Regions from separate parts of the Homo sapiens genome. Here all the other regions are linked to region 3. The links are contacts of gene promoters, found by promoter capture Hi-C in human tissues and cell types (Jung and others, 2019). All regions are on one chromosome and are shown on one strand. Each heading gives the region's core, a stretch centred on a gene start or on the middle of the fragment in contact. The rest is flanking DNA. Distances are from core to core; before and after follow the strand shown.

Region 1 (3,323 bases), core at 456-2,955, 130 kb after region 3:
ATATTATTGGTTGAAATTATTATTATTATTATTATTTGAGTTGGAGTCTCACTCTGTTACCCAGGCTGGAGTGCAGTGGCACAATCTTGGCTCACTGCAACCTCTGCCTCCCAGATTCAAGCGATTCTCTTGCCTCAGCCTCCCAAGTAGCTGAGATCACAGGCACTCACCACCACATCCAGCTAATTTTTGTATTTTTAGTAGAGATGGGGTTTTACCATGTTGGCCAGGCTGGTCTCAAGCTCCTGACCTCAAGTGACCCACCTGCCTTGGCCTCCCAAAATGCTAGGATTACAGGCGTGAGCCACTGCACTCAGCCAAATTATTTTTAAAGTTATATTTTTATGTTATAAAGTTTTCTTAGACAGTTGACAGGAATTTAATAATATTGAGAGAAGTTCATTTAGTCCGTTAATCCATTGGCAACTATCAACAGATATATCCTATGTGCCCAGCACTGCTCTAGGTACAGGATATCCCTCTTGTGGAAGCTTTAAGAAGGGAGATGGACAATAAACAATAACCAAGTAGGTGAACAAGATAGTTTTATAGAATGATACATGCCCTTGATGAAAATACAGTAATGTGATAGAGAATGTTGGGGAGCCTACAATAGATTGGGTGATTAGAGAAAGTCTCTCTCAGGAGGCAAGCCTTACAATAAAAATCTAAATGATTAACAAGAATCTAGGTTTACAAACATCTGAGGACAGAGAGTTCCAGGAAGAGGGAACTGCAAGTGCAAAGGATGTAAGACAGGCATAAGCTGGGAATGCTAGAAAAACAGAAGGAATTTGCTATGGCTATAGGGAGCCAAGGGAAAAGTGGTGTGAGGGAGGGAAGCTGGCAGGGCCATGGTGTGTAATGTCCTGTAGATTATTTTACATTTGTATATATGTATATTTTTGAGACAAGATCTCATTCTGTTACCCAGGGTGGAGTGCAGTGACAGGATCTTGGCTCACTGCAACCTCCACCTCCCGGGCTCAGGTGATCCTCCCACCTAAGCCTCCTGAGTAGCTGGGACTACAGGCACATGCCACCATGCCCAGCTAATTTTTTGTAGAGGTGGGGTTTCGCCTTGTTGCCCAGGCAGGTCTCAAGTGCCTGAGCTCAAGTGATCTGCTTGCCTTGGCCTCAGAAAGTGCTGGGATTACAGGCATGAGCCACTGTGCCCAGCTACATTTGTATGTTAAGTGTAATATGACGCCTTGGAAGATTTTAAGGAGAGGCATAGAATGAGCAGATGTCTATTTTTAGGAGAAGACTTTTCTGTGTGTTATGCAGAGAATCTAGAGAGTCGATGGAAGTGGGTAAGGAGTGGAAGCAGGAAGCTCAGTCCTCCTGCTGTAGCAGGTCAGATGAGGGATGGTGGCAGCACTCCTGGGAGGTGGCAGGACAGATGGAGAAGAGTGGGTGGATGTGAAATGAAGCTTGCAAATCGTCCTGATGGGCCTTGCTGATGATAGGGAGGAGAAGATGAAGAGAGGAATAAAGGCTCTAGAACAGAGGAAGCAATGACAAGAAAGACTGGAGGAGAAATGGTGTATGTGGAGGGTTGCAGGAATAAAGTTTTCTTTTGGCCATTGTCATGGGTTAAATTTTGCCCCCATAAAAGATATGTTGAAGTCCGAATTGCTGAACCTTACTTGAGATCAGGATTTTGGCAGATATAATCAAATTAAGATGAGGTCATACTGAATTAGGTTGGACTTTAATCCATATGATAAGGATTTATGGTGATAAGAAGAACGGAAAGGAGAGATGGACAGACAGACCTACAGGATGGGCAAGAGGGAATTGAGGACAAACTGTGAGGCAAAGAAAGTTACTATCAGCAACTCTTTTGACATTTCATAGAGAAGGACAGTGGAGAAATGGGACGGTGACTTGGCTGGGGGAATGGGGTGAAGGGAGAATAGAACATGTAAAGTCATAAGAGTTGAGAAGTTTCAGTATGAATGAGCCCATTGAGGGAGAGAAATTGATGACTGAGGAGGAGAGGGAGAATTTCAGGAGCTAAGTCCTTGAGATGATGAAAAGGGATAGGCCATGCTTGGAACAAGGACATTGGACTCACTTTCATAGCAGGGAGGACAGAGAAAGGGGATGGCTGTAAATTCCCTGTGAACAACAGAGTTCCTTTCCGATGAGGCAAGGTCATGAGTTGAAGGGCACAGAGAACAGGGAACACTGGAGGTTTCAGGAACAGCAGAAACTATAAAAAACATTTGGGAATTGGAAGAACCAACATTCCAGGGAAGGAAAGCACAATTCCCAAGAGGTGAGGGGCCCTTTGAAACTTGTGGTTCTCAATTCTAAGAGACCCTGGGCAGTCACAGTGATATTGGTGAACACACCCCAGGTGCTGTTCTAAGCCCTTTACATCTAAAGTCCCACATCTACTAGATGTAGCTGGTGGGCTCTCACCACTGGCGGTTTTGCTGAGTGAATGCATGGAATGAGATGGAGGCTGAGGATGCTGAGGATGGACCATGCCAACACAACTGGATAAGGAGGCAAGGAAGGCTCAGGGTATAACAGTCTGCAAATGAAATCACCTTCCTACTGGGCATTACAGTCTGAAAAATAGTTTAGCCCCTCAAATTTTCTCCCTCTCCAATTGTTTATTTTGCTCTGGGTTGGAAAGTTCTCTCTTAGGTGCTTGGGAAGAGGTGTGGTCCCTTGAGCAGATGCTGGCCGGACAGCTCCCCCACCTAGAGTGCTTATAGTTCCATCATCTTCCCAAAGTTGAATTAATCTAACCCCAAGTCACTCACATGACCCACTTTTCCAAAGAATCAAGAGACAATAGATGACAAAATCCCACAAGACGCTCTATACACGTGACTACATTTGGACAATACAGTACAAGACTCGGTGTGTCCAAGCAAATTCTGTCTCAGAGCCAAGGACATGGTCCAACCCACACAAACATGAAATTTCCCAGCATGTCAGGAGCAAGACAGGGATCACAGAATCACAGAGGAACCAGTGCAGGCAGGTGTGAGATGGAGCGCTTCCTTTTGGAGGTGAGATGAGCTGACGTGTTTTCTCCTACTAATCTTAATTAGCGGGTCTGTTTTTTCCAAAGCACATTCAGGAGAATCGCAGTGAGTGCCCTAAACCATGACATTACCAGCATGAAAACTGATACTCTCCCAGAAGTATGGGGTAGAGAAGAGTCCTTCCTGGAGCTTTGAATAATTTTGGACTTAAGACTCTTCCTTGACTTTCTCCCTGGAATATTTTGAAATATTCAGTATACTTGAGTTTTGCTCTTCTAGTAGTAATGGTAGTAGTACTAGTAATGATAGTAACTA
Region 2 (3,170 bases), core at 92-2,591, 80 kb after region 3:
TACATTGTAGATAGCTTTGATGCTTAACAATTAAGTGACAAATAAGCTGTTTCAGAGAAATTGGGAAGCAATAGGTCTTAATTCCCCAGTCTGTAATTCCCTGGTGTTTGTGCATGGGGGGTGGGGCTGGTATAAGAGAGAGAGAGAAGAGGCTGGGTGCTGTGGCTCATGCCTGTAATCCCAGCACTTTAGGAGCCTGAGGCAGGTGGATCATGAGGTCAGGAGTTCAAGACCAGCCTGGCTAACATGGTGAAATCCCGTCTCTACTAAAAATACAAAAATTAGCTGGGTGTGGTGGTGGGCACCTGTAATCCCAGCTACTCAGGAGGCTGTGGCAGGAGAATCATTTGAACTCTGGAGGTGGAGGCTTCAGTGAGCCAAAATTGTGCCATTGCACTCCAGCCTGGGCAACAAGAGCGAAACTCCATCACCAAAAAAAAAAAGAGAGAGAGAGAGAGAGAGAAGAAACCAAGGAGGAGGAGGAGCAGCAGCAGCCGGAGCAAAACACAGGCAACTAAAGGGACATCTGTGAGAAGCACTCATTTTTAGAGCCTACATCCTTTTCTTTTGCATGACATAATAATGCCTTCAGGAGGCAGAGAACTCATGTATGGGTGTGACATACCTTGTTTTCCAGAGAATCATCATTTTGTGAAAATGTATCATCTGAGTGTAATTCAGGGTGGGAAATGTGATACCAGACAGATCATATACAGATGTAGATTCCAGAAAATGCTCTTTCATGTCTGTATTAAACTTAGAAATTTGGATTGCTTTTTTAAAACACTAAATACCTACTTAATATCACATAAACAAAGTGGCGTATATTTTTCTCACCAAATAAGAGGGATGAAGTATTTATGAAGCAGCTCAGTGATATACTAGCCAGCATCTTTGTCATTGTATTGGCCTTGATCCTCAAGTCACAAGTTATCTACTATAGTGCCATGCATCACTTTTATAGTTGAGGTAGGGTTAATGGAGATATAGGATTTTAGCTATATGTATCGTATGTATCAGGAAAGCTAATGCAGTGTCAGGAAGTTTCTGTTCATACCTCTACCTCAGAACTAGATTATATGGCCACTCTTAGCTGCAAGAGAGGCTAGTAACATGAATGGTTAACATTTCCAGCTTCTTTAGGAAAGGTAGGCAAACAAGAAAAGGAATGAGAATGAATTCTGGATTGGCAACCAACAATATTAGTCAGGGATTTGAGATTTTGCACGGTAGATTATTTGCATCTTTCTACTTGTAGCTTGTCTATGACTTTATTTTTAAAAAGCATCAATTACAAAAACGTATAGGTAGGTCTTGTTTTTGTAGCTAGTCTCACAATCCTTGCCTTTTAATTGCACTGTTTTACTTGTATCTAATGTAATTATTTATATAGTTGAGTTTCAATCTACTATCTTGTTATTTATTTTCTAGCTGGTCCCTCCGTTTTTTGTTTCTTTGTTGATCCTTTTCAGGCTAATCAAGTTTTTGCTGCTATTGTTGTTTTGTTCTTTGCTTGGATTCCATTTCTTCTATAGCAAGCTTGTCCAACCTGTGGCCCACAGGCTGCATGAAGCCCAGGATGGCTTTGAATGTGGCCCAACACAAATTCCTAAACTGTCTTAAAACATTGAGAGTTTTTTGTAATTTTTTTTTCAGCTCATCAGCTATTGTTAGTGTTAGTGTATTTTATGTGTGGCTCAAGACAATTCTTCTTCTTCCATTGTGGCCCAGGAAAGCCAAAAGATTGGACACCCTTCTTCTATAGGCTTTTAAAGTAATTTAAAACTTAAGTTGTTTAAGTTTAAACAACTCTTTTTGTGGTTGCTCTAGGGATTATGTCTCTTTAATTTATCAGTATCTACCATTACTATGAGTTAACATTATTTTCATGTGCAATGTAAGGTTTTTTCAGCAGTATTATCCTACTTATATCCCTTCCATCCTTTGTCTATTGGTGACATAAGTTTTACTCTTACATATGTTCTAAGCCCCACTCTACATTGTTTCACCTTTTTTTTCAGTCAAAGAACGTAAAAAAGAAAAAAAGAGTTTTTTGTATTTATCTATATATTTACCATTTCCAGGACTTGTTTTCCTCACCTAGATATTCAGGTTTCCCCTTGGCTCTATTTCCATTTAGTAGAAAGAAATTTCTTTACAATTTCTTATAGAGTGAATCTGCTGGTGATAAATTCTCTTAACTTGTATTTATCTGAAAACATCTCTTTTGCCTTGCCCTTAATTTTTAAATTTTATCTATATCTTTGAGTTGCTATGATTTTTCTCTTAAAATAATCTTAACTTAGAACAGTATGAGATTTACAGAAAAGTTGCGAAGGACATGCTGAGGACTTGAGATACTGGCATACAATTCCTATTTAGTTATACTAGAATCAAAAACCTAACTTGTATTAATTAATTTGCAAAAAATCATTCTCCTCTTAGGGGTACCAATTCAGTATATTTGATCCCTGTTGGAGAATTTCTTATGTGCATACATGGGTTGATCTGAATGTGAAATGCTGAATTTCTATTTGAGTGCATTTATCAAGTATCTAACCTAAAGATTTTCAGGCTCCTACAAAAGAAATGTGGAACTACATCCATTCTTTAAAGGCTACATTGGGTGGGGGATGGAAGAGTGGGTATCAGTAGGGTGCTTAGTTGAGGAGAAAATTTTGAGATTTTTCTTTAGAAGTTAAGGGTTCCCAAAGGTTTGAAGTTTGAGAGAAAGAGGCAGAAAGAGTTAAACTAGGGGAAGAAAGGAGTGATTCACTCTGACATTGGTGTTCTTGAAAAATTCTTTTCGGGTCAGGTTAACCAGTCTTCCCATCCTATGCCCACAGGACCAAATGTTTCACAAGTCCTTCAGCAAGCAAGTTCACAAAAGAACTTGGAATTCCATTCTGTTCCTTAATCTATCACTGAGAACAGGGTGAGTTCTTTAAATCTCAAACCGTTCTAATTTTATCTAAACTTCATTAGCTTGTCTTAAAATAATTCCCAAACCAAAGAATAATAGAAAGCTGGCTCTCATCTCATCCAACTTCCTTTATGATACAAATAAGGAACCTGAGACAGAGAGAAAGGATTTTTCAAGGTCATTGTCCTCATAACAATCAAATACATATAATAATAACACATGAGCCGGGCACGGTGGCTCACACCTG
Region 3 (3,275 bases), core at 731-3,230:
GACAGAATCTTTAAGAAGAAGGTGGCAACTGAGAAGTTAAGGGAACGGGAGGAAGTGCAGAGGAAGAGGGAGGGAATGGAGACAGTAGCAAGTGGGGAGCTGCGGGGATAGTCTGTGCACCGCCCCCCACCCCACCCCCTAGTCAATATCAGGATCTCCCTCTTGTGTCTTGGAGTCTGAGTTCGAGCTCTAATATATCCATTCCACGGTTCCCAAAAGAGGAACTCTTCTGTTCCTGGATAGGGATCCCTTGTTTAGGTCACACATGAGTGGGACTGAACAGAAAGTCTCAGGGAAAATTCTCTACCGCCCTCGCTCTGACAGCCTGTTCCCTGCCTTCAGTTCCCTGCCTTCAACCAAAGCACGCTGGTCACGCAGGCAGAATCTTGGCCTTGGCCATCGCTTTTTGTTCTCAGTTCCCCCTACCTCCTCCAAGGACACACGCCAAGGATGGTACTATGATTCTCTTTTGGGATGGCCTCGTAGCTGTGAAAGTTAGACTCAGGCCTCCTTTCCACAGACCCAGACACGCAACTACCCCGGAAAGCACCCCCGCCCTGCACCCCCATCCTCCTCACCTCCCATAGGAGCTGCAGCACAGAGATTTCAACACAGGGGTTACAAAGCTGAGTCTCAGAGGTTCAGATAGCTTTCTAATGGCCTCGAGGCTCCGCGGGGAAAAAAAAAAGTATAGCAAAGAGTTGCCATCCAGTCCTGGGGCTGTCTAGCGCCTTTATGCGTAGTGGGTACGGGGTTGGGGAAAGAGTGACCAAGGGGAAGAGAGTGTAGGCTCAGCTCACGGGTCGCCCAACAGCCTCAGACAAGCCACTTGACCCCTGGACTCAGTTTGGGAACCTGTAGCAATGGGTTTGACCTCTTCTCCTGGCTGCGAGTATCACCACTAGGGAGAGGCAAAGGCTTGCAGAAACCCCAACTCCCGCTCAGGCAGCGCGCTGCCCCGGGCTCCGGTAGGGTGGGGACTGGTCGCGAAGGCTAGAGAAGGCAATGGCAGGGGAGGTCAGTCCCTGCCGCGGGCCGGCTGCAGAGCGGACGTTCCGCCCTGCTCCCGGCCCCCTCTTCGCCCGCCGGGTTCGCCGTGTCGAATAACTGCTGTCCGGAGCTTTCGTGACGCGGAGCTTCAACTGCTGCGATCCGGAAGAAGCGAAAAGGAGTCCCCCCCGCCCCGCACCCTGAGCGCCCGGGCGTGCAAACGTGGGTGGCGGAGAGCGGCTGCCCTCCCCTCCCCTGTCCCCCCTCCCCTCGCGGCGCTCCCGTGTGTGCGGGTGTGTGAGTGCGTGTGTCTCCCTCGCTCACTCTCGCACACGTTCCGGCACTAGTGCAGGCGGCGAGCCGGCGGCTCTCCGCTCGCTCGCTCCGGCAGCTGCGTTCCCGCCTCGCCCCGCCGCCGCCGCCGCCGCCGCCGCCGCCGCCTCTGCAGTCGCAGCCGGGCATGGTGAGTGAGTGAGGTCCAGCCGCCGCGCGCTCTCCCGGCTCGCCGCCGGACCCCAGCCTCAACCGGCTCCGTCCCAGGGAGCCAGCCTGCGGCGGGAGCGCGCTGCGGGGCCGGGCGGCTGGGGGACCCGGGCGGCCGAGCTGCGCCTGGAGGGGCGGCCCGTGCGCTCTCGGTTCCAGGCGCGCAGGGCCGCGGGACCCCGTCTTGGGAGCGGGCTCTACGCCCCTCCCGGCTCCGAGTCTCTCTCCTCGAGGGCTGCGCGCACCCTCCCCGCCCGCCTGCCCGCGGTTCTCCTCCTGCTCCCGGAGCGCCAGTCGCCCCACCCCGTGACCGGCTCCCCGTCTTGTCCCGCAGGACCCGCCCGGACGGGACCACGCCGCCGCCGCCGCCGCCGCCGCCCGGAGCCGCGCTTCGGGTCCTGCCTGAGCCGAGCCGCGCGCGGGGCCGCAGTCACCGCCGGCGGGGGATGGGGCTGCCCAGGAGGCGCGCCGAGCCCGCAGGGGGAGCGCGGAGCCGGCGCGCAGCCTGAGAGCCCGAGCAGCCCGCGCCGGGCCGGTCCGTGCGCACCGCGCGCCGCCGCCGCCACTGCCGCCCGCGCCTCGATGGCGCCATCGCCCCGGAGCCGCTGACCGCTCAGCGCCTCCAGCCCGGCCCGCGCGGCGGGTCCTCCGAGCCCGGCCCGCCGGGGGAGCGGCCTGCCGCGGAAGCCTCCCCGCGCCCTCCCGCCCGGCCCCGCCATGGCGCTGCGGCGCCTCCTGCTGCTGCTGCTGCTCTCGCTGGAGTCCCTGGACCTGCTGCCCAGCGTCCACGGAGCCCGCGGCCGCGCCGCCAACCGGACCCTGAGTGCAGGCGGCGCTGCCGTCGGGGGCCGGAGGGCCGGGGGCGCCCTGGCACGGGGCGGCCGCGAGCTGAACGGCACCGCCCGGGCGCCCGGAATCCCGGAGGCGGGAAGCCGGCGGGGGCAGCCCGCGGCGGCTGTGGCGGCGGCGGCCAGCGCGGCCGTCACCTACGAGACGTGCTGGGGCTACTACGACGTGAGCGGCCAGTACGACAAGGAGTTCGAGTGTAACAACAGCGAGAGCGGCTACCTGTACTGCTGCGGTACCTGCTACTACCGCTTCTGCTGCAAGAAGCGCCACGAGAAGCTGGACCAGCGCCAGTGCACCAACTACCAGAGCCCGGTGTGGGTACAGACGCCCAGCACCAAGGTGGTGTCGCCGGGGCCCGAGAACAAGTACGACCCGGAGAAGGACAAGACCAACTTCACCGTCTACATCACCTGCGGGGTGATCGCCTTCGTCATCGTGGCCGGCGTCTTCGCCAAGGTCTCCTACGACAAGGCCCACCGCCCTCCACGGGAGATGAACATCCACAGGTGAGAGCGCCGCGTGCCGCGCGCCCCGGTCTCCCCGCGGCCTCACCCTCTCAGCTTGCTTCCCCTGTCCTCTTCACTCTCGGCATCATCACACCTCCCCAGGCCCTCTAGTCATTTCCACCATCGCTCCTTTTGCATGCAATAAATCAGGGTCTTCTTGTGCCCCCTCCTCCATTTCTTCAGAACCGGGAATGCATGCTTTGGTGGTAGGGGGATTTACAAGGCAGAGTAAGAATTGGTTGAGTGCATGAAGTTCCAAGTGTAAGAATGTTACAAATTCTGTAATCGTGGATGAGGATCCAGGGTTCTGCTTTCCTGGCATGAGGGCACTTTGGTGTAGGTTCTTAATGGCATTTAGTTTTTTGAGTCAAATCAGAGTGTCATCTTCAATATAGGAAACTGACCAATGTTGGAACCTTACTGAAAGCGGTACCAAGTGGCTTAGGG
Region 4 (3,314 bases), core at 41-2,540, 110 kb after region 3:
GTCAACTATAAATGATTTTTTGCCTCTTGTTAAAGCAGGCTTTAAAGACTTTCTTGGCAATTCTTGATGAGCTAACGGCACTTGTCACCCTCTATATTTAAAAGAATTAAATAATTATTTAATGCAATAATTTAGTAATTATTTGATAGTTATAAAATAATTTAATAATTATAGAACCATCTTTAAAAATATTCTATGATCCCAATAGGCCTCCTCAATCTTGGTCTGAGTTAGTGAGTGAAGTTTTATTCCTTTTATTCTATTGGTCCTCAGCAGTGTCTACCCTGAGTTTTTTCTTTCTTTCTTCTTCCCTTTTTTCCTCTTTCTTTTCCTTCATAAGAAACAAGTTCATTTGGGGCCTATATTTAACAGTCTACCCAATCTGTATATTTTAACACTCGAGATCCTAAGTAGTAAAATGGAATAATATTTCATGTTTGTATCAAGATTGCTCACTTTCAAACCACATAATTATCTTGTGAAGCATTTATATTCTTCCCACTGATAGGAAGAGTTGAGCAAACATAGAAACAAGTATCAGAACAGAAATCATGAAACTTGGCCATTCTTTTGCTTCTCCTACTCATCTGGCTGTGCTTTCACTAGTGGGGGAAACCATAGGCGTAGCTCCTACAGCTTTGGGGGATTCATAAAAAAGGAGCTCTGCACCAGGGTACAAAATAAGCTAAAGGTTGTGTTTGGTCTGGGATCCTTTGGTTTAATTTTATGCCACTGGATAAACATGTTAGTGAGATTCATTTATTTGTGCCTTGCAAAGAAGTATAAAATCTTGCCTGGCCATAAAAATTTGGCTGGAGTTCCCACCACATAAATTTACCATTCCATTTCGCCATTGTTTCTGCCCATCATGGATCCACAACAAAAGAGGGCCTGACCTCATCCCCCAAAGGTATTATTTTGTTCATAGTGCAGCTTTCACATTGGGCCAGAAAGAAACTATTTATCAGCTCGTGACTCAGACCTCTTAGGTTAACACCCCTCTCAGATTCTATGATTTCAGAGTTGGTTTGGGAGTAAATACATCAGCCTAGGATTATTTGACATCGTTTTCTGTGCTTGGTTAGCAGAAGTCCATTGAGTCAGGCTTTTGTCACCCACCTACATAGTAACAATGGAAGTTATTTATGGTATGGATTTTATGGGTCAACACTTTTGAAGATAACTGTAAATGCCAGGACTGTGCCTCCTTGGGCTGTGAGTTCTGTAGCTGAGCAGCCACAGTTGGGGATGGGGGACGCGTGAATGTGTAAGTCAGTGCTAAAGACAACCACTTTGTTTACAAAGCTCCAGCACTTTCCAAATGTCTGCAGTATTCTACCTGTCAGTCAGCTCCACTATCTGCTAAGTCAGATAACTGATGGGAAGGAAGGAATGAAATGAGGCCTCTTGAAAAAGAGAGATTATTCAGATTAAGAGTTTCAAAGCAATAGGTTGGAAACAGGCAAAAATGAATCACGTGGAGAGTCAAAATGAATAGAAGTGGAAGATTGTGGGCTCAGGGTTAAGCCCCTGCACTGGGCCTTCTGTTAATAAACGTTAAGGGGAAATGCAAGACCCAAGAGGGACAAAAGGAGAGTGCAGAAACATCCTCTGCTTATCTGGATAAATGGTTCCTTTCACATTTTCTTTGTGGGTGGCTTTCTGAAAGCCATAGAAAACCATGTTCTCCCCACCTTTTTTTTTGTTGAACCCGCCTCCCAGGTTCAAGTGATTCCCCTGCCTCAGCCTCCGAAGTAGCTGGGATTACAGGCAGGCACCGCCATGCCCGGCTAATTTATTTATTTATTTATTTATTTATTTTTTTTTTTTTTTGAGACGGAGTCTCGCTCTGTCGCCCAGGCTGGAGTGCAGTGGCGCGATCTCGGCTCACTGCAAGCTCCGCCTCCCGGGTTCACGCCATTCTCCTGCCTCAGCCTCCCGAGTAGCTGGGACTACAGGCGCCTGCCACCACGCCCGGCTAATTTTTTTGTCATTTTAGTAGAGACGGGGTTTCACCGTGTTGGCAAGGATGGTCTCGATCTCCTGACCTTGTGATCCACCCACCTCAGACTCCCAAAGTGCTGAGATTACAGGCATGGGCCACCGTGCCCAGCCGAGGACCCATTTAAGGGTCAGCTTATGAAGAAACCAAACCAAGAGCCTCATCAGATATCTAATCAAACATCATATCTAGTTGATTCCTTCTCTTTACATCTCAGTTCTATCCCCTCTTCCCTCAGTCCACTGTCAATCATCTCTCACTGGACCATTAACTATTCTGCTTACTATTTTTCTGCCTTTTATCTTACCTTTATCTTTATTTAATTATTGTAGAGTGATCAGAGCATTTTTTCTAGTATATAAATCTGGTCATGCCATTCCCTCACTCAAAATTCCTTACTAGTTTCATACTGGCCAAAAGATTAAAAACTCCATAGCATGGCATAAAATCATTCTACTATGAAGACACATGCACACATATGTTTATTGCAGCACTGTTTACAATAGCGAAGACTTGGAACCAACCCAAATGCCCATCAGTTATAGACTGGATAAAGAAAATGTGGCACATATACACCATGGAATACTATGCAGCCATAAAAAAGAATGAGTTCATGTCCTTGCAGAGACATGGATGAAGCTGGAAACCATCATTCTCAGCAAGCTAACACAGGAACAGAAAACCAAATGCCACATGTTCTCACTCATAAGTGGGAGTTGAACAATGAGAATGCATGGACACAGGGAGGGGAACATCACACACTGGGGCCTGTTGGGGGGTGGGGAACAAGGGGAAGGAGAGCATTAAGAGAAATGTGTAAGGCATGCGGGGCTTAATACCTAGATGATGGTTTCATAGGTGCAGCAAACCATCATGGCACATGTATACCTGTGTAACAAACCTGCACATTCTGCACATGTATCCCAGAACTTAAAGTAAAATAAATAAACAAAAAATACTATCCCGTCTTTATCTCCTGTCATGCCTACCTGAATATCCAATTACCTAGTCATGTATGGTTCTCTGAAAACAATTATCTACATATTGTTACATGCTTTTCCATTTTCCTTTAATATCCAGTCATCAAAGTACCTACCTAGTAAAAATTCTACTCATCTTTCAAGTTTCAACTCAAGCATTACCTCCTCTGTGTTGCCTACCCTGATCCTCCCAACAAATTCTATTTTGTTGCTTCTATTATTTCTTAATCATGTATTCATTACAGCAGTGATCACATTTCATTACAGTTGTTTTGTTTGCACATCTCTATTTGTATTAGTCTGTGAGATCCGTGAGAAAAGAAACTATGTTT
Region 5 (3,269 bases), core at 727-3,226, 70 kb before region 3:
TTCATAAAGTGTTTCCTGCAATTCTTGATTCTGGTCTAAATGTTGTGGTGGCTTCAAGGACCATAAGTCTTGTAAAAAAAAAAAAAAAAAGAAAAACAAAAGCAAAACACACACACACAAATCCACACTCTGCTTTCTGCAGTGTGATACTTTGTAGGAAAAGGGCTACCTTAGAGATGCTCTCAGTAATATCCACCTAGGAGAAAGAAACCAAGTTTGTGGAGCCCCTACCTGTGTTAGGCTCTGTGCCGGGCACTTGACATGCTTCATCATATTGATTTCTCATGACAACCCTGCAATAGTGATATTATTATTCCCATTTTACAGCTTAAGAAACACAGGTACAGAGAGGTTACTTAACACCAAAGACATTCAGGAGGTGAGTTGTAAAGCCAGAAGGCAATCCAAGCTTGTTTTGTTCAATAACATTATATCAAGGAATCCTTGTCTTGGAGGAATTAACTCTGACAGCAAATGATGGTGGGTCCAGTGATTCAGGGAAAAGTGTGGCGGGGCCTGAGTGAGCATCCTTTGAAGGGTTGCTCACTCACTCTTGTTGGTAATTCAGCAGCTCGGGCAATGGGGAAGAGGCTGCTGTTTCACAGGCCTTTAGTCCATACTCTGCAGCCAGTATTGCCGGCCTTCCCCTCTCTCCACACACCGACCAGGCTGCCCTTCCATGGCCAATTCCCCCTTTCAGGTTGCCCCTGATGTTCTATGATGGCTTGAGACTGGCTTTAGTCTTTGGATCTCTGCCTTCTTGTTTGTTTTGATCCCCCTTGGAAACTGTGAGTTGCAAGCTGCAGAAGTAGACTTTAAGATTGCTCAACACTGAATAAATAAAACCGTTTCTGATAGCCTGCAGTAAGCATGTCTTTTTTTTTTTTTTGAGACGGAGTCTAGCTCTGTCGCCCAGGCTGGTGTGCAGTGGCGCGTTCTCAGCTCACTGCAAGTTTTGCCTCCCGGGTTCACACCATTCTCCTGCCTCAGCCTCCTGAGTAGCTGGGACTACAGGCACTGGCCACCACGCCAGTCTAATATAAACTGAGTTCATTCATACTCCACTGGGGGCTCAGGAAGGAAACTCAGAGTGCTATTGGTGTTAGACAAATAGGAGCTGGAAGTTGATGCTAAGTGAGGTCAGAGCACATGTCAGGGATGCCATGCTCTGTGGTACCCAGTGAAGCACCAAGAAGAGAAGAGAGTTAACGGATGGGTTTGATGGTGAGTATGATATAGTATCTCACATCTTCTTATTCAGCACCTACATCTGGGGAAGGTCTCCAGAAAACTTGAGGGCCTATCGAAGGGAATTATGCTGAGCCTTGCATAGAGTCAAGTATATGGAAAGGGTCTAGGAGGCAGAAGAACCTTCCTGGAAGGAAGGATGTGACAGAAGGCATGCCACGGACCAGTCCAGGTGTCTGTTCCCTAGCCCTGCCTGAAAAGAGAAAAGCTGGATGTAAAAAACAAAGTAACCATTTTTCTGTCATTCGGGGCATAGACTTTGAGGCTCCAGTGACAAAAAGGAAAGCTGAGAGTTGCTGGTGGGAGGCATGCTCCCCATTGCTGGGCAAAAACCACAGGAGACAGCCCAGCTCACATGCTGAGATCAATGCCACGGGGATCAGTGACACAACCTGGCTGTACTGTCTTGAGGGCGCTGCAGTCCTGGCTGAACTGGGAGATAGCGTGCTGGGAGCAGCAGCAGCATTCTGTGTGGAAATCCACGGCAGCCTTAGCAGTGGTGGGGTAGCACTTCATTCAAGCTGCCACATTGCCACAGACATCGACAAGAAGCTCAGGGAAGAAGGACTTAGGAGGGCTATCTGTGAACACTCTGAGGACCTGAGCACTTCCAGTGGGGCTTTGGGAAGGTTACAAGGAGCAAGTAGAGAGACCAGGAGTCAGCAGCATTGAGTATCCAATTCACACTGACGCAACCTCATTTTTAACCACAGGTTGGGAGGCCTGGAGACAGAAGCAAAGAATCGAGAAAGCCCCTGATAACTATTCCAAGGCTTGATCAGATATGTGAGCCAGGAAAACTAAACGCAGCTCAAGTGCTTGAGATCTCTTGAATTTCCTTAGCCTCCTACCCCTCGAGAGACCTTTCCAAGGTTGCTCTCTGTAAGAAAAATGAGAGCGCCTCCCAACCTGCTCTAGCCAATAATTCATTCGGAAACAAGTTGCTTATCTCTTTGATCTGGGTCACGGAGGGTGCCCCTGTCTGAGCTGCTTGTATGCTGGGTACTCTCGCTAAGCCTCATTGACTGCACCGAGGGATGCTAGGGGAGGGACCATTTCCATATCTGCATTAGCCAGCTTTGGGTCAATTAAAGTAAAACTGAAAACAACTTGGTAGGCTGCTGGATAAGCAATGTTGGGGCTCAGAAGTGGATACCCCAAAATATGGTGCTGTGAACATGCAGAACTGAAGCAGCCTCTAATTCTCTCTGACCTCTCCTCCTCCCCTCCCATCTCTGTCTCTCTCCAAGCATAGGATGAAGTTGTTCTCTGAAGTTCCTTTATCTGCCTGAAGTCCAAACCTGCCAAAAAAGAAAACAATGACCTCTGGTTCTTTCCCTGAGTTTCATTCACTGAACTGATATCGCAGGAAAAAAGACTGAAATCTGTCAACATACCTGGACAGACTTTTGTTACAAACCATTATCTGGTCTGCGGACTGTACAGACTTTGTCCTAGGCCCTTTGTATGTTCTTCAAGGCCATTGAATTCCCCAAAAAATCATTACTACCCCCCAAAATTGTTTATACTTCCACACCTCCCTATCGCCTAAGAAGAAGGGTATCTTAGCACCCATACCCTACTGTGTGGTGGGAAGATCACTCTGATATCCTCCCATGCATGTTAATAAATATGTATGCCTTTTCTCCTATCAATTTGCCTTTTTCATTTGATTTTCAGCAAATATTCGGAAGGCAAACGGGAGATTTTTCCTTTGATCCCTACAGCAACTTTCCATATCTCAGTGTTTCCGGAAAAAGCAGTACTGGGTAGGCGTTGATCGGCAAAAGGTGTGACTGTAGCTGCTAAAACCAGCAGAGCGAGTGTCATCACCTCTGGTTGCTTTTCCTTCAGCCCTAAATACCCTCTCATCAAGCCTTCTTCCACCTACCAAACACCTCCCACCCATGAGTCCAAAGGTCTCTCTCCTCTTCCTGCGTCCCTCAGGTCTAAAGGACATGGTAAGCCGCTAGGATTTCTTCCTCTAAGTTAATGGGTAGGCTGCTTGCCTATGTTATGCC
Region 6 (2,941 bases), core at 379-2,878, 92 kb before region 3:
AAGGATGCAAACATTCAGTCCATAACAGTTACTCCGGTCCACTACGAAAAAGAAAATTTGCAACGTACCCTACATTTTCAGTTGAGGGGGTCACTAGCTATGCAGTCAGTCCTCTTCCTTCAGGGTGTGTAAAATGATGCCATTCAGAAAATCTAGCACTGCCCACCTACTCCCCACGCACCACTCTAATATAAAAAGATGGCTGAGAGAGAGAGGAGGTGGCATTTTGAAGAAATGTCATGTTTACAAAAAGTAGCTCTCTCTTCTCTCCAAGGCTGAGGGAAGGCGCCACCAAGACAAACCACCACACAGTGGGAAGTGCCTAAATCTTTTCTCCCTCCACTAATTCTGGGATGAGAAGATCATCTTGTCAGAAAGGTGACAAACGAATGGACTGGCAAACCTAATTACCAGTAGGGCATGTCAATAAAGGTAGAAGAGAGAAGATACGGCTGCAATGGGGGGAGACTTCCGTGGGGGAGCCAGAACTCCTCACATTTTCATGTGGCAAAGATGTGTAAGTTTTCTAAGACATAAAGGTAGATAGCTCCAGATATCTTGAAGCTATTTCAGCCTATAAGGCTGCAGGCATGGTATGGGGGACAAAGAAGCAAGATGGGATAGGCCTGTAGTGAGTTTTGGGAGGAGGGGGATATATTGAAATTGAGAAACAAATCCAAAGGAATGTGCAGGCAGTGGGTCCCCCAGGGCTCTCAGAAACACCAGCCAACACCCTCTCTGAAATAACCAGTATTCTTGGAATCTGACAGCTATGTGTCTTGGAGACTTGATACACAGTTAGAATCGATGGCTACTGGCTGTCGGAAAACAGACAAAAGCCAACAGAAAGAAGTGGTGACTTTGCTACGGGTCAGCCAATAAGGGCCCCGTGGCACTCCTCTCCTTCCTTTGGGCTATGACATCGATGCGGTATGTGCCACCTCTATATTCAAGCCACGAGCCACAAGTGTAACCCCTATAGGCAGGGATTGGTGAGGAGGACCTTAAAATGATTATAAAATTAACCATCAAAATAAACAACACTGAATCTAAGAGAAAGGATGTAAGACGGATCTAATAACTAAAAGTGATCAAAGAACAATGGAATTCAACTGTGCTATCGGGAGGAGAATCCACTATCACGTGGGGGAAACGTTGAATGAAACACAAGTCGCAGCAGAAATTGAAAAAAAAATGATTTCGTGTTTTCGTTTTAGTGAGCTGACACTCTTTTTTAAATTAATTTTTTAAACTACAGGCCAGGCGTGGTGGCTCACACCTGTAATCCCAGCACTTTGGGAGGCCGAGGCGGGTGGATCACCTGATGTCAGGAGTTCAAGACCAGCCTGGCCAACATGGGGAAACCCCGTCTTTACTAAAATACAAAAAATTAGCTGGACATGGTGGCGGGCGCCTGTAAACCCAGCTACTCGGCAGGCTGAGGCAGGAGAATGGCGTGAACCCGGGAGGCAGAGCTTGCAGTGAGCCGAGATCGTGCCACTGCACTCCAGCCTGGGCGACAAGAGTGAAACTCCGTCTCAAAAACAAGTAAATAAATAAAACTACGAAAACATTTTCAAAGAAATGAGAAAACATTACCTTTAATTTGATGCCCCCCTATAGATATATGCAATTAATTGCTTTCCCGTTTTTAGACAAGTTAATTTAAACTAGGTTATGTCCATTACGTTCAGCCACTGGGCTCGTACTCACATCTCTCCACTTTGAATATCTGTCCTCCCAGTTCAATTTGTATCTCAAAATTTATAATTTTATATTGCTAGAGAAACAAAACCATCTTTTTTTCTCTTCCTTCAGGGACTCTGGGGAAGAGAATGGGGAAGAGAATGTCCCTTGGCTAAGAATTTAATCTAGCTCTTTCCAGAACTAATTACAAAACCTCTGTGAGGCGTTTGGGTAGTTATAAGAGCAGTTCTTAAGCGGCATAAAGCTGGAAAATGGGCCCATTTCTTATTTTCAACAGGTCCTAGGAGTCACAGTTTGAAAGGGTGGGAGTACTTACATTGTTCAAAGGTAAATTACATAAGGTGTTAACTACATGGAGAGAAGAGGCTTTGAAAACTACGGGGATATTTAAAAAGTATTTCTCTTCCATTTTATGGGCTTAGACTAATAGATCTGATAGTTAATATTTATCTTTGAGAGCTGTGTGTACGTGCAGTGGAGAAAAGTGTGGTTGATGAGTGCAAGGTTGCAGGGAGAGCCCACAGCTTCCAATGAGCAATCAATAGGCTATGAAGATTGTCTCCAACTCACTGTGGTATGGAGACCCCAAGGGGACCGGATGAGGAGTGTCCAGGCCAGCTCGGGACGATTCTGTGGGACTGGGGATGCCAAGTCCACCATCAACTCTCTCTGGGATACTGTCTTAAATGGACTGAGAGCTAGATAAAAGTTCTGCTAGTGGGGAAGGAGGCAGCTACTGGTTTGAGATCAGTCTCTGCAGGGAGGAAGAACATTTTGCTGAAATGAATAATGAATCACAGGAAGGAGAATAGGGAGAGATGCTTCTCAATAAGGAGCAGACCCCCAAAATAAGGGTGTATGGCTAGGAATTAGGGGAGCCCATAAGAGCATCCCTATACGGATTTCATATTGTGTTTTTCCTTTGTATTATGGCAACGGAAATTTTAGATATCTGTGCTCTTGTATTATGGTTTCCTTTTGTTATTACAATCCTGCAGAACAGTCGACATGCATACAGACATATACATATATATCAAAGGAGATCAGAGGCGTTCTGCATGTTATGGCGGTAGACACATGCACATATGCCTACCAGCAGTGTTGTGAAGAACAGCATAATGAAGGAAGTAGGGCCTGGCCAATTTGCCCTTCTGAGGGTGCCACGCAGAGGAAGAGGCATCCTAGAGAAAACCTCCTTCCCAAATAAACGGTCAGAGGCCCAAGATAGAGCTGG

Evidence for each region. The method cuts DNA at HindIII sites, captures the fragments that hold promoters and counts their contacts. A contact is called where the count stands out against the background at its distance.
Region 1: a fragment that was not itself captured here is called in contact with the fragment with the promoter of SHISA6 in region 3 in 2 of the 25 tissues and cell types used here (bladder and hippocampus).
Region 2: a contact is called between a fragment that was not itself captured here and the fragment with the promoter of SHISA6 in region 3, in 2 of the 25 tissues and cell types used here (mesendoderm cells and neural progenitor cells).
Region 4: a contact is called between a fragment that was not itself captured here and the fragment with the promoter of SHISA6 in region 3, in 2 of the 25 tissues and cell types used here (spleen and thymus).
Region 5: a fragment that was not itself captured here is called in contact with the fragment with the promoter of SHISA6 in region 3 in 2 of the 25 tissues and cell types used here (neural progenitor cells and spleen).
Region 6: a fragment that was not itself captured here is called in contact with the fragment with the promoter of SHISA6 in region 3 in 3 of the 25 tissues and cell types used here (liver, mesendoderm cells and thymus).

The regions. Positions count from the first base shown.
Region 1 is chr17:11,365,259-11,368,581 of GRCh38, forward strand. All of the region lies in intron 2 of SHISA6 (shisa family member 6), which reads left to right. Among named protein-coding and RNA genes, the nearest start is that of SHISA6, 130 kb to the left of the region's middle. The HindIII fragment of the contact is 3,398 bases long and covers 7-3,323 here.
Region 2 is chr17:11,320,228-11,323,397 of GRCh38, forward strand. All of the region lies in intron 2 of SHISA6 (shisa family member 6), which reads left to right. Among named protein-coding and RNA genes, the nearest start is that of SHISA6, 81 kb to the left of the region's middle. The HindIII fragment of the contact is 9,815 bases long and covers 1-3,170 here.
Region 3 is chr17:11,239,233-11,242,507 of GRCh38, forward strand. SHISA6 (shisa family member 6) reads left to right here and starts at 1,981. Exons shown (of 6, transcript NM_207386.4): 1 at 1,981-2,828. The coding sequence starts at 2,191. The HindIII fragment of the contact is 17,378 bases long and covers 1-3,275 here.
Region 4 is chr17:11,348,365-11,351,678 of GRCh38, forward strand. All of the region lies in intron 2 of SHISA6 (shisa family member 6), which reads left to right. Among named protein-coding and RNA genes, the nearest start is that of SHISA6, 110 kb to the left of the region's middle. The HindIII fragment of the contact is 8,299 bases long and covers 1-3,314 here.
Region 5 is chr17:11,168,877-11,172,145 of GRCh38, forward strand. No RefSeq gene overlaps it. Among named protein-coding and RNA genes, the nearest start is that of SHISA6, 71 kb to the right of the region's middle. The HindIII fragment of the contact is 5,074 bases long and covers 1-3,269 here.
Region 6 is chr17:11,147,125-11,150,065 of GRCh38, forward strand. No RefSeq gene overlaps it. Among named protein-coding and RNA genes, the nearest start is that of SHISA6, 93 kb to the right of the region's middle. The HindIII fragment of the contact is 6,732 bases long and covers 1-2,941 here.